Linked DNA regions of Homo sapiens: all the other regions are linked to region 1. The links are contacts of gene promoters, found by promoter capture Hi-C in blood cells and fetal thymus (Javierre and others, 2016). All regions are on one chromosome and are shown on one strand. The core of a region is centred on a gene start or on the middle of the fragment in contact, and the rest is flanking DNA. Distances in the headings are between cores, read along the strand shown.

Region 1 (3,264 bases), core at 709-3,208:
GACAATCCTAAAATTCATATGAAATTGAAAGGAACTATGAAATTAGCTGAGCATGGTGGTACATGCCTGTAACCCCAGATACTCAGGATGGTGAGACAGGAGAATCGCTTGAACCCGGGAGGTGGAGGTTGCAGTGAGCCGAGATTGTGCCACTGCACTCTAGCCTGGGCGACAGAGCAAGACTCTGTCTCAAAAAAAAAAAAAAAAAAAAAAAAAAAAAAGGAGCATGAGTAGCCAATACAATCTTAATAATATTTTCAGAGAAATCACACTTACTGATTTCAAACATACTGCACAGTTACAGTAATCAAAAAATAAATGTGGTTCTTGCATAAAGATAAATTAAAAACGTGGTTTTTGCATAAAATTCTATGAAATAGAATTAAGAGTCCAGATATAAGCCTATACATCTGTACTAAATTGATTTTCAACAAGTATGCCAAGACAATTAAAAAGGCTAAGAATTGTCTCTTCAACAGAAGGTGCTGAGACAACTGGATATCCATGTGCAAAACAATGAATTTGGTCCCCTTCATCACACCATACATAATAATTAACTCAAAATGGGTCAAAGACATAAATATAAGAGCTAAAAACAAACAAAATTTTACAAGAAAATATAGGGGTACATTTTCATGAACTTGGATTTGGCAGTGTTTATTTAGGTGTGACTCCAAACGCACAACCAAGTTTTAAGCTTTTGTGCATCAAAAATACTATCAAGAAAGTGAAGACACCCCACAAAACGGGATAAAATATTTTCATATCATATATCTGATAAGGTTCTCTCATCCAGAATTTAAAAAGAACAATTAACAGCCCTGCTACAAACAATTCATTTAAAAAATGAACAAAGCACTTGAAATAGACATTTCTCCAAAGATACACAAATGTCCAACAAGCACACAAAAAGATGCTCATCCTCATTAGTCATTAGAGAAATGCAAATTAAAACCACAATTAGGTACCACTTCATACCCACTAGGATGGCTGTAACGATAAAACTGATTGAATCACTTCTAAAATGTCTTTCTCCACAGATTTATGATCTCACAAATTCCTGTTTTAATTATAGCAATTGTTCTAAGTTTAGTGTCTAGGTTATTCTGTTCAAGTGAACAGAATAATTCATGCGCAAGCACAATTTATAGGTATTTAACAATTAAACGTCTGAAGATAGGAGGCAACGGCAAAATTATGAAAAATCCTAATGCTTAATTTTATGAAGCTACTACAAAACATGTTCTCAGAAAATATCTAAAAAATTGAGCAAATGTTTATTCTACATGGAAATGAGCAGGACATGAAAGTGCATATTCAAAATTATCCAAGCTTTGTAAGAGCTTAGAAAAAAGGAAAAGGAAATAGTGTTAATATTTCACTGTGAGCCCTGGAAAATGGGAGGCCGGCTTAGTTAATTATTTTCTCTTCATGTCAATTTTCTGAATTTTACAGTGTCAATATTGTGCATGCAATTCTTTTGCAATCAGGGGAAAAGAAAAGAAATCCTCAAGAAGTTAAGTCTGGGAATGACAAGTCAGTAAAAATTACGTAGATTGGGTCAAGATGGCAGCCTGAACACTGAGCAGTAGCGCATTTCTCTTGTCCTACCACAAATCCCCTTCAATGGAGGGTGGGGGGACGCGGGGAGGGAGGGGAAAGGAAAGGGCTAATTCCTGAAAGGTGGAAAGCAGAAGGGGCAGGGGCGCAGAGGGTTGAGGTTAGGTGAGGGGAGGGGCGCGTGCTAAACCAGAAGAGGTAAACCAATGCAGTGAGAGAGAGGTGGTTGTGGGCTCCACAGCTTCTGATTTGGAGGAAGCTGCGAGACCGAGAGCCTAGGAGCACCTTCCACGCCCAGGGCTGTGGTACAGGTTGGTGGGGGAGGGGCGCCACGCGGTGTTTGGCAGGAAGGGGAGGCCTCTCTACTGACCGGAAGCTGCGCTAGAAAAAGAAGGAGGAGACTGCGGCGCAGCAGCGACTAGTGGGAGTCCGATGTGGGAGAGGGGCTGCGGCCACCGCCACCGCCGCCGCCACCAGGAAGGCGGAGGACGCAGGAGCCAAGAGCAAGGGACGCCGCCACGGTCATCTTCGCCTGCCCCGCCGCCCTCTTAGAGACACTCATTGCCTATGGATCATCCTCTCCCAGCTTTTGCAAGCACCGGGCTGCTCGCCCGCTGATTTTCCTCCTCCATAGGCTCACTGCGGAGGCAACGGCGAGGTGTCCGATTTGTGCACTTGAGGCCCGCAATCCGGGACGGTGGGGAATCTGCGCCTCCTGGCCGGGTAGTGTTGGAAGCAGGGCGAGGGGAATGGGGAAACGCTTCGTATTTCACCGAACCGCAGATCTTAGCCAGACTGAGCTGGGGAGGAAGGTTACTGCAGGCACTCAGCCAGGGTGCCTTGATTTCCAGCTTTGCTATCTAGCTTTCGGGAAAAACAGGTGTGGGTTTACTGGGTGCGCTGATTAGGAGAAAAAGCTCTCCGTGTTATGCATTGATTTTGTTAATTTCCTTTCTCGGTCCACCTGGCAACTGTGCTCCTCTTCGCAGGCATGAAGACCCCGTTTGGAAAGGCAGCTGCAGGGCAGCGGTCCAGGACGGGCGCTGGCCACGGCAGTGTGTCTGTTACCATGATAAAGAGGAAGGCTGCACACAAGAAGCATAGGAGCCGACCCACCTCCCAGCCTCGGGGGAACATCGTGGGCTGCAGAATTCAGCACGGATGGAAAGATGGAGATGAACCTCTAACACAGTGGAAAGGAACCGTTCTGGATCAGGTACCTGTAAATCCCTCTCTGTATCTTATCAAATATGATGGATTTGACTGTGTTTATGGATTGGAACTTCACAGAGATGAAAGAGTGTCATCACTTGAAGTCCTTCCTAATAGAGTTGCATCATCTAGAATCAGTGATACACACTTGGCAGAAATAATGGTTGGCAAAGCAGTGGAACATATTTTTGAGACAGAGGAAGGTTCCAAAAATGAATGGAGGGGGATGGTCTTAGCTCAGGCACCTGTCATGAACACATGGTTTTACATTACCTATGAGAAAGATCCTGTATTATATATGTACCAGCTCTTAGATGATTATAAAGATGGTGACCTCCGCATCCTTCAAGATTCCAATGATTCTCCTCTGGCAGAGAGGGAGCCAGGAGAAGTCATAGACAGCCTGGTAGGCAAACAGGTGGAATACGCCAAAGACGATGGCTCCAAGAGAACTGGCATGGTCATTCATCAGGTAGAAGCAAAACCCTCTGT
Region 2 (3,045 bases), core at 331-2,830, 180 kb after region 1:
TCTCACTGCAAACTCCGCCTCCCAGATTCAAGCGAATCTCCTGCCTCAGCCTCCCAAGTAGCTGGGATTACAAGTGCCTGCTGCCACATCCGGCTAATTTTTGTATTTTTAGTAGAAACAGGGTTTCATCATGTTGGCCAGGCTGGTCTCAAACTCCTGACCTCAAATGATCTGCCCTTTCTCCACTCTTAAATGCATCTTTCTTTATTTGCTACACCCAGGTGCTGTAATCTCTCACTTGGTTTCTTTAGGCCTTGTAAAGGTAATTTTGCGCATGAATAGTTGTTCAAATGGATACTTCTGCAAGGTTATGAGTGCTGAAGAATTCCATTTTGCCATCTTGCTGCATAGGAATTTAATAAGTTGGGAGAGGCTGGCCAGGCATGGTGGTTCACGCCTGTAATCCCGGCACTTTCGGAGGCCAAGGGGCGGGCGGATCACCTGAGGTCAGGAGTTCGAGACCAGCCTCAACATGGAGAAACCCTGTCTCTACCAAAAATACAAAATTAGCTGGGTGTGGTGGTGCATGCCTGTAATCCCAGCTACTCGGGAGGCTGAGGCAGGAGAATTCCTTGAACCTGGGAGGTGGAGGTTACAGTGAGCCAAGATTGCACTATTGCACTCCAGCCTGGGCAACAAGAGTGAAACTCCGTCTCAAAAAAATAAAATAAAAGTTGGGAGAGGCTGCCTTGGGAGGTGCTAGCCAGACATCTATTGTTTTAAACAACTTGAGATATGCACATATAATACAATCCGTGATTTAAAGTGTACAATTCAATGGTTTTGGATATTTATAGATAAGCATAGATATGTGTAAATATCACTACAGTCAATTCTTATGCATTTTCATTAACCCTGAATAAAATCACACAGTCCTTAGACATCAATTCTCAATCATAACTTAAGGGAAACTCCATCCTTAAGCAAATATTTTTTCTGAACCTATAGACTTGCCTCATGTGGACATTTTATTTATATGAAATTATATAATATATGGTACTGTGTGACTGGCTTTTTTCACATAGCATAATGCTTTTGCTTTTCCCAGACCACCAGGCAAGAATTATTTTCCTTTTTTTTTTTTTTGGCATAATGCTTTCAAGGTTTATTCTGGCAGTATGTATACTTATTTCCTGTATATGACTAAATTAATATTCCATTGTGTGAATATACATTTTGTTTTCCATTCACCAGTTGATGGGCATTTGAGTTGTTTCCACATTTTCCTAGTACAAATATTTCTGCTGTAAACCGTCCTGTACAATTTTTGTTTGAACACCTGTTTTTTAGTTATTTTGGCTATGTATCAGGAGTAAAATTGCTGGGTAGCATGTTATTTCTTTTTTTTTTCTTTTTTTTGAGATGGAGTCTTGCTCTGTCATGCCCAGGCTGGAGTGCAGTGGTGGGATCTCGGCTCACTGCAACCTCTGCCTCCCAGGTTCAAGGGATTCTCCTGCGTCAGCCTCCTGAGTAGCTGGGCTAATTTTTTATATTTTTTAGTAGAGATGGGGTTTCACCATGTTGGTCAGGCTAGTCTCGAATTCCTGACCTCAGGTGATCCATCCACCTCAGCCTCCCAAAGTGCTGGGATTACAGGTGTGAGCCACCACGCCCAGCCATTATTTTTAACTTAGAGAGGAACCACAAAATTGTTTGCCCAGTGGCTGCACATTTATCATTACCAGCAACAATGCCGCATGTTCCTGTTTTCCCACATTCTAACATTTATTATTTTGCTATTTAAAATAATAATAATAATAAGTATCCTACTGGGTATAAATTGCTGTCTCTTTGTGATTTTGATTTGCATTTCCCTGATGACTAATAGTGTTGAGCATCTTCTCATGTGTAATTTGTGATTTGTATGTCTTCTTTACAGAAGAATCTATTCAGATCCTTTCGTTATAAAATTGGTTTATTGTTTGTTTTATTATTTAGCGGTAATTACTGTTTATTTTATTTTATTATTTTGTTTTATTTTTTGAGATGGCGTCTTGCCCTGTTGCTTAGGCTGGAGTGTGCATTGGTGCAATTTTGGCTCACTGCAACCTCTGCCTCCCAGGTTCAAGCTATCCTCCCACCTCAGCCTCCTGAGTAGCTAAGATTACAGGCATACACCACCACACCCTGCTAATTTTTTTTGTGTGTGTATTTTTAGTAAAGATGGGGTTTCATCATGTTGGCCAGGCTGGTGTCAAACTCCTGACCTCAAGTGATCCCCCTGCCTCAGCCTCCCAAAGTGCTGGGATTACAGGATGAGCCACCATGCCTGGTCTTATATATTTTAGATACAAGTCATTTATGAGACATATTATTTGCAAAAATAATCTTGCACTGTGGCTGTCTTTCAAATTTCTTGACTGTGTTCACTGAAGCAAATTTTTTTTCAATTTTAATTATGTCCAGTTTATCTTTTTTTTCCTTTATTAACTTGTGCTTTGGTGTAAGAATTAAAAATCTAATACTTAATTCAAGGTCACAAAAATTTATTCTATATTTCCTCCCAAGAGTTTTATAGTGTAACCCTTATATTTGAGTCTTTGGCCTATTTTGAGTTAATTTTTGTATTTTGCATGAGGTAGGGGTGGAAGTTTTTTGTTTTTTTGTTTTTTTTTTGCATGTAGATACCAAGTTGTCCCAGTACCATTTATTGAAAATAGTTATTTCCCCTTTTGTCTTGCCTCCTTCTCAGAAGTTAATTGGCTGCAAATTAACTTTTGTGAGGGCTTATGTCTGGACTTTGGATTCTATTTCATTGATCAATATTTATATCCTATGCCAGTACCACATAGACTTGTTTATTGTAGCTTTGTAATAAGTTTTAAAATTTGGAAATGTGACTCTTCAAACTTTGTATACTTCAAGATTGTTTTGGCTATTCTGGGTCCATTACATTTTCATATGAACTTTAGAATCAGGTTATAAATTTCTTCAAAGTAGGCAACCTTAATTTTGATAAGGGTTGCATTGAATAGTTTGATTATTTTGAAGAGTGTTGTCATCTTTATAATACTGTGCCTTCTGATGCATAAAATGCCTTTCACC
Region 3 (3,344 bases), core at 732-3,231, 190 kb after region 1:
TGCCCCCAGTGCGACCTATCCCCACCATGCCACAGCCCCAAGGGTGGGATTTCTTGAGGATAGGCTCCTCTGGCTCACTGGGACCCCTGCCCAGAGAGGAATCCAGAGGGAAGGAGGGAGGCAGAGAGCCTTTCGCATGTTGCAGGTTTCCCCAAAGAGACCATGTAGGTGGGGAGTCCTGCTGTAGATGAGGTGAGCGCTCCTTGGCCGGTTTCTTTCTTTCTTTCTTTTCTTTTTGTTTTGTTTTGTTTTGTTGGAAGCAAAAGGAGAAAGAGAAAAGCAAGGGAAATAAGTGACTGCCATTTCTGGAGCCACACTGCCATCCAGCGGCAGTTGTTTCTGAACACGACCGGCTGCAGGGATACTTGCCTTCTGACAGGCACAGACTTCAGCGAGAATATGTCGGGCTGGGTGGACTCTGACTAAGCCAGAGTTTCCCCCATCGCGGTTTTAAACCTTTGAAGGAAGTGTGCCTGCCATTTGGACCCCACGGAGAAGCAGCTAATCTAGAGGCCCAGGGACAGAGCAGCCAGGCAGCCCCAAGACCAGTCAGTCCAGAGTGCGGAGGTGCCCTGGCAGCCATCTTGAGGTGGGCTTAAGGGAAGCCACTGACTACTGACGGCCGAGACTGGGGTCGTTTACACTGGTCTCTTTTGTGGGGAGTTCTGGGGTGCCCTTGCCTGGAATCACGCTGGGGCCAGAGGTCCCCTATCCTCCCAGTGAACCAAGGAGCTGTGGGGTGCTGTGGGCGGGACGACTCCTGCCCGGCAATTCCTGGAGATGGCCAGGGGAACCCATGGAGGGCCGCCCCTTCCTGCCCTTTTTTCGGAGAGGGCTGTGGAGCCCGGGTGCCATCCTGGTAATGAGCAAGGGCAAAGGGCCAGCCAGGAGTTCCTCTCTCGTCCAGCTTCAGCCTGGGGGCCCCACACCGCCACCATCTCTTTCGTGCTCCTGGGATTTCTCCAGCACTCATGCCCAGCTGCCTCCAGTTTCCAGAAACAGATTCCGCTCGATGGCACTATGGCTCTACAAAGGCCAACTACAAGCTTAACCCTGCCCCTCCAATCCGACGGCCTCCACCCTTTCCAATGTGAAAAAAAGAAAAGGGAAAGAGAAACAAAAAAAAGACAGGGAGGATAAAAAGGAGCCAGCCACCTGGTCTCAGGTTGACCACCAAACTTAAGGGACCCTACGACCTAGGACCAGTAGGCAGGAGACACTGCGGAAATCCTCTTTATGCCGCCAGCCTTTGCTTTTCCTTTGGCCCTCTCCAGGTTTCATGGCTCATGCTCATGCAGAAAAATAGAAGACAAATGATACATAATCATGGCCACTGGGAAACCACAGGAAGACTGGGATCATGGGGCTGCCGCCCCAGGACAAGGTGCTGGTCACCCAGCTGAATTACCCAAGGTTTTGCTGCAGGACTGGTGGTTCTCCCAAAGCCTGGAGCTCCAGATAGAGTTTACCACCTTGGGCTGGCACATGGAGGTCACCAAAATGAGCGAACAGCTCAACAGGCAGTCACAGGGCGTGTGGCAGGAATCTCCCTCAGAGGGGATACTCAGCAACTGACTGAAGTCTGACTCTGTGCAGGCTGTCCTGGCTTTCACATGGGGTGGGGGGGAGGGGTGACATGAGGGTGGCTTAGGGGAACTGGGGAAGGCCACCACGCAACACAGATTCCCATGGCATCACAGAGGGCCAAGGGTCCCAAGGGGACTGTCTGCCTCTACCCAAGGTGTGGTCCCTTTTTAAGCAGGTTGACCCAGGAGGCTCCAGTTTCACACTGGCTGCTGGGGCTTATCTGATAACAGACTTCCCGCATTCATTCTCAGGAGAAGGCCTTAGGTGCCCAATCAACAGCATAATGACCCAGGCCTGGAGCCAGGAATCCTCACCCATAGCCCATTGCCTGTGGCCGACTGAGAGCCTTTATGGGAGAGTTCGTGGGCAGTCTGGTGGCTATGGCGACACATGTGTGTGTGCGTCTGTGTGGGTGAATGCTTGAGCCCGCACCCCTGGGCCTGTGTGAGGATTTGTGTGTGTGTGTGTGTGTGTGTGTGTGTGTGTGTGTGTCTATGAGTTTGTGAGTGTGCATGTGTTAGTGTATGTCTTTGTGTCTGTGTGTGTATCTCCCTGTGCATGTGTGTTTGTGATTATATTTGTGGTTGTCGGGGTTTCCCTGTGAGTCCATGTGGTTGTGTCTGTGTCTGTGGTCTCTGGGTGCCTGCCTGTGTGAGTGAGAGTGGGCAAATGGGCACGTGGGAGAGACAGCCTGCCTATACACACTGAAATCTGGATCGTTGTGTTCACATGGCTGGATTGAAAGAAAAGACAAAGGGGGACAACTTGCCAAGGCTCCTGCTGGCTCAGGATTACACATTTAGAGCATCCACAAAGAGAATGGGAAAGAATGGTGAGCCATGAGGAACAGGTTAAGGGGTGGGTTCATGGTGACATTTCATGAAAAGTAACACATTGGCGCCTTTGTGGAACACCAGAGGGACTGAACTGGTGACCTTCATATCTGCTCCTTTAAGAACAAATGAGGCCTTTCTCACTTTTGTTCTGCAAAGGGGCATCCTGCATCACCAGGAGCAGAGGAAGAAGCAGTCTCAGTATAATGCTTGACCCGCCAAGAGCCAAAAGTGAAAGGAAAAAGAGAAGAAAGAAGAGAAAAATGAGAAGGAGAAGGAGAAGGAGTAGAAGAAAAAGAAAAAGAAAAAAGAGGAGGAGGAGGAAGAGGAAGAAGAACCAGAAAGACAATAAGAACAAGAAGTGGCAGCTTCACGCCACAGCAGCTGTCCTGAAGGACCTAGTTCAGGGGTGCCTCACTGCATGGTGGCATACACAACAAGAGGCAAAGAGAAACCTGTGATGTCCCGGTGAAAGGACACAACACCAAGAAGCTTCTTGTTGATGGGTTCTTTTCCGAGTGGTATCAAGGGCTTTGATCTACAAGTAGGCCTAGAGAAGCTACAGAGGACAGAGGTGCAGGCTGAGCCATGCCCTCCAGATGTCATCAGCGCACTGCAAGGGGCCACGGGCTTCTAATCTACAAGGCCTGGGTAGGGAAGTACCCCGGAAATGGGTGGGAGGAGAGATGTAAAACGGGGAGGAAATGGATACCAGAGAAAGGAGGTAATGAGCCACCTATGGCAACACTGACAGAAGGCAGATAGGGGAGGGGGATGCTGCTTACACCCCCAGGGTTCAGCCCGGGTCCTTCTGATTTCCTTAGGAAAAGTAGGCTTACTCTCCCTAAGGACATTCCTGTGCCCACCCGACCCTGCTTTTGCAGGCTGATCCTGAACTCCCTAAACCAGAAATTGATGAAAAGT
Region 4 (3,353 bases), core at 367-2,866, 210 kb after region 1:
TTCCTCACGGGGTCAGCTAGAGTCCTTCTAATTTCCTTAGGAAAAGTAAGCCTGTTTTCCCTGAGGGTGTCCCCGCAACCAGTCAACCCTGTCTTCCAGGCTGCTCCTGACCTCCCCAAACAGAAGTGGACAAAATGTAAAGACAGTGAAGGAGAAAAAAGTGAAAGGAGGGAATCTCCAAAAGTACACAAAGAATCAGAGAAATCAATGAGGTTGAGAGGGAACTGGAATGCAGAGTGCACCAAATGAATAGCTGGCAGCCCTGTGAGTGACTTCTTGTGTCCTCACAGAAAAAGAGCCACCAGCAAGAAGAAAGTGTCAGCCCCTTAAGCCCGAGTCTGCACCGCGACTGCATAGAGGCCTGTTGGTTCAGGAGGCTGCCCTGCTCTCTACTGCCCCAACCCCAACCCCATCCCGCACACACCATCAGCAAATATTGGGAAGCCAGACAGGAAACAACAAGAAAGGTAAACAAGAAGGAAAGGGAAAGCTGAAAAACTGCCCCCTGAGAATTGCCTAGACGACTGTACCCGGAGGTGAATGAAGGTGTCTGGCCAGACACTTGTGAGTGTGCGTGGGGATACGTGTATTTGTCTGAGGAACTATGGAAGCACAGATGAAGATGGGAAAAAGTTGAAGCGTGATGGGAGTTAAAAGTTAAAAACGAGGTCCTCTGACACTCAGAGTCGCAATGCCACCCCAAAGACACAGTCCAAATCTTCCTGCATTCTTTTCTTCTCCCTTTGTCCCTAGGAAGGGGCAGAAGCACCCCCTGGTGCATGCTACCTACATGTGAAAAAAGAATCCGCATTTGTTGACAAGTGACAGAAAGGGGGTGACTCCTGTTCCATGGTCATGTGAGTCTTCTTCCTGGAATGCCCTGGGAGTGCAGGCCCACACCCGAGATTGATGTTCCTCTTGTGAGAGTGGTTCACACTCTCATGAGTGTGAGAATCATTACCCGTGGCATGAATTTTCTGTCCTATGAAACTCTGCTCATTCCCAGTGCGGCCTACACATCCAGGAAGATTTGTAACAAGCAAAGACAGAAAACATTTGCAATATTTGAAGAGCTGTGTGTTCCATGCTGCTGCCCAGGCACTGAGCGGCATGGGTAGCATATGTAACCTTTAGAGCAACGCGGTCATGGCTTCGCATCCCAAGAAGCGGGCTGTATGATGGCCCGCGTCAGGATTTCTTACGTCTGCCTGGAAACCCTAAAGAGCCGGCAAAATTTGTCCTCGACCGACTCATTCATTTTTAGGGCTGAATATCCCGCAAGCACCAGAGTTCAGCTTGAGGACCCCAGAGAGCTCTGTATCAAACCAAGGCACAGTTGCCCTACCACCATCCCACCCAACACATTCCAGGATCCACCTCTACTTCCACACGCAGAACAGGAACAAAGACAGGCCCAGGAGAAGGCGAGCACTGTCTGGAACCTGGCTACCCATGCACTTATGCAGAATGACCAAGATGCCGGGGCAAATAACTGGTGAACCACCACGTTCCAGTGAGCACGCATGCTCAGTCAGACATAACAAGTGGCTTTCTCTCCAGGACAGCCACCTGTAAAACAACCTGGAATACCCCTCCCACCCCTGGGCACAGATGAGTGCCTGGGCTCCAGAGAGAGAGAGGGAGCTGAAGGCCTCCAACAGGAGTCCTTCCAGTCCAGTCCCATCCCAACAAACATCCAGCCAAACTCCTTGCTGCTCCATGGGTCAACAATGTGCGGAAGCCTGTTGGACCGGACTGCATTCCATACAAGATTTGGTCCCTTCCCCAAGAGGAAGAGTGCTACCTAGGGACAAGTGTCGTGCACCTCAGCATACGGCCTGGTCTCTTGCCTAGGGGGAGCTGAGCACATTCCTAGAGAAATCTGCAGCAGCCTGCATGCAGGGCCACACATCCACACACCTCTCCCCCTGTACCCACTCACACTGCCCCCAGTGCGACCTACCCCCACCATGCCACAGCCATAAGGGTGGGATGTATTGAGGATAGGCTCCTCTGGTTCACTGGGACCCCTGCCCAGAGAAGAATCCAGAAGAAGGAGGGAGGCAGAGAACGCTCCTACTGTTGCACCTTCCCCCAAAGTGACCACGTAGGTGGGGAGCCCTGCTGTAGATGAGGTGGGTGCTCTTTGGCCCGTTTCTTTCTTTGTTTCTTCGCTTTGTGTGTGTGTTTTTGTTTTATTCTGTTCGCAACAAATGGAGAAAGACAAAGGCAAGGGAAGGGAAGGAAAAGACGTGACTGTCATCTGTGGAGCCACAGTGCCATCCAGCGGAAGGTGTTTCTGAACATGACAACAGGCTGCAGGGACACTTGCCTTCTGCCAGGCACAGAGATCCGCGAAAATGTGCGGGACTGGGTGGACTCTGCCTAAGCCAGGGTTTCCCCGACTGGGGTTTAGAGCCCTAGAACAAATCGTACCTGCCATTGGAACCGCTTGGAGAAGCAGCTACTCTAGAGGCCCCGAGACAGATCAGCCAGGCAGCCTGAAGACCCGTCAGCCCACAGAGTGGAGCTGCACCAGCAGCCATTTTGAGATACGCATAAGGGAAGCCACTGGCCACTGACAGCCAGAAAATGGGGCCGTTTAATCTGGTCTCTTTTGTGGGCAGTTCTGGGATGCCCTTGGCTGGGGCCACAGTGGGGCAAGAAAGCCCCTATCCACCCAGGAAACAAAGGAGCTTCGGCGTGTTGAGTGTTGGGCGACTCATGCCCGGCAGTTTCTGGAGACTGCCAGGGGAAGCCATGGCTGGCCGCCCCGACTGCCCTTTCTTACATACAGCTGTGGAGACAGGCCGCCATCCTAGGAATGAGGGCAGGCCAAGAGCCAGCAAGGAGTTCCTCTCTTGTCCCGCCTCAGTTTGAGGGCCACACGCCACCATTTACAGCCCCATTTACAGCCCGAGTGGAAGACATTGTGGGCAGTTTCGTGCCTGAGGTGTTGTGTGTGTCTGTGTACGATAATGCTTAAACCCGCACATTTGTACTAGTGTGAGCTTACTTCTGTGTGTGTGTGTGTGTCTGTGTGTATCTGTGTGTGTGTCCGCTTAGGCGTGTTTAATGTGTGTGTTTGTGTCTGTGTGTGCATGAGTCTCCATGTGCGTGTGTGTTTGTGATTTAATTTCTGATTGGGGGGTCCCTTGTGAGTGTATGTATTGTGTCTGTGTCTGTGGTCTGTGGGTGCCTGCCTCTGTGAGTGAGAGTGGGCAAATGGGCATGTGGCGGAGACACCCTGCAAAAACTGAAATCCGGATCAATGTGTTCACATGGCTGGACTGAAAAAAAAGGAGACACGGGACAACTTGCCAAACTTCCTAATGGCTCAGGATTACACACCT

Evidence for each region. Contacts are between HindIII fragments. The CHiCAGO score rates a contact against its expected background, and 5 or more counts as called.
Region 2: a fragment that was not itself captured here is called in contact with the fragment with the promoter of SPIN3 in region 1 in 1 of 17 cell types (total CD4 T cells); the score reaches 5.1 in total CD4 T cells.
Region 3: a fragment that was not itself captured here is called in contact with the fragment with the promoter of SPIN3 in region 1 in 12 of 17 cell types (non-activated CD4 T cells, naive CD4 T cells, activated CD4 T cells and 9 more); the score reaches 12.0 in non-activated CD4 T cells.
Region 4: a contact is called between a fragment that was not itself captured here and the fragment with the promoter of SPIN3 in region 1, in 3 of 17 cell types (total CD4 T cells, naive CD4 T cells and non-activated CD4 T cells). The highest score is 6.0, in total CD4 T cells.

The regions. Positions count from the first base shown.
Region 1 is chrX:56,994,235-56,997,498 of GRCh38, reverse strand. SPIN3 (spindlin family member 3) reads left to right here and starts at 1,958. Exons shown (of 2, transcript NM_001010862.3): 1 at 1,958-2,283; 2 at 2,550-3,264. The coding sequence starts at 2,552. RefSeq lists an enhancer at 1,927-2,026. The HindIII fragment of the contact is 2,350 bases long and covers 1,335-3,264 here.
Region 2 is chrX:56,818,557-56,821,601 of GRCh38, reverse strand. It overlaps NBDY (negative regulator of P-body association), which reads right to left. Exons shown (of 3, transcript NM_001348129.2): 3 at 2,423-3,045. Among named protein-coding and RNA genes, the nearest start is that of NBDY, 91 kb to the right of the region's middle. RefSeq lists a silencer at 1,152-1,446. The HindIII fragment of the contact is 3,504 bases long and covers 1-3,045 here.
Region 3 is chrX:56,800,713-56,804,056 of GRCh38, reverse strand. All of the region lies in intron 2 of NBDY (negative regulator of P-body association), which reads right to left. Among named protein-coding and RNA genes, the nearest start is that of NBDY, 73 kb to the right of the region's middle. RefSeq lists enhancers at 475-614, 3,114-3,183. The HindIII fragment of the contact is 1,866 bases long and covers 1,049-2,914 here.
Region 4 is chrX:56,782,666-56,786,018 of GRCh38, reverse strand. The region is part of intron 2 of NBDY (negative regulator of P-body association); the gene reads right to left. Among named protein-coding and RNA genes, the nearest start is that of NBDY, 55 kb to the right of the region's middle. RefSeq lists enhancers at 2,571-2,650, 3,310-3,353. The HindIII fragment of the contact is 3,817 bases long and covers 1-3,353 here.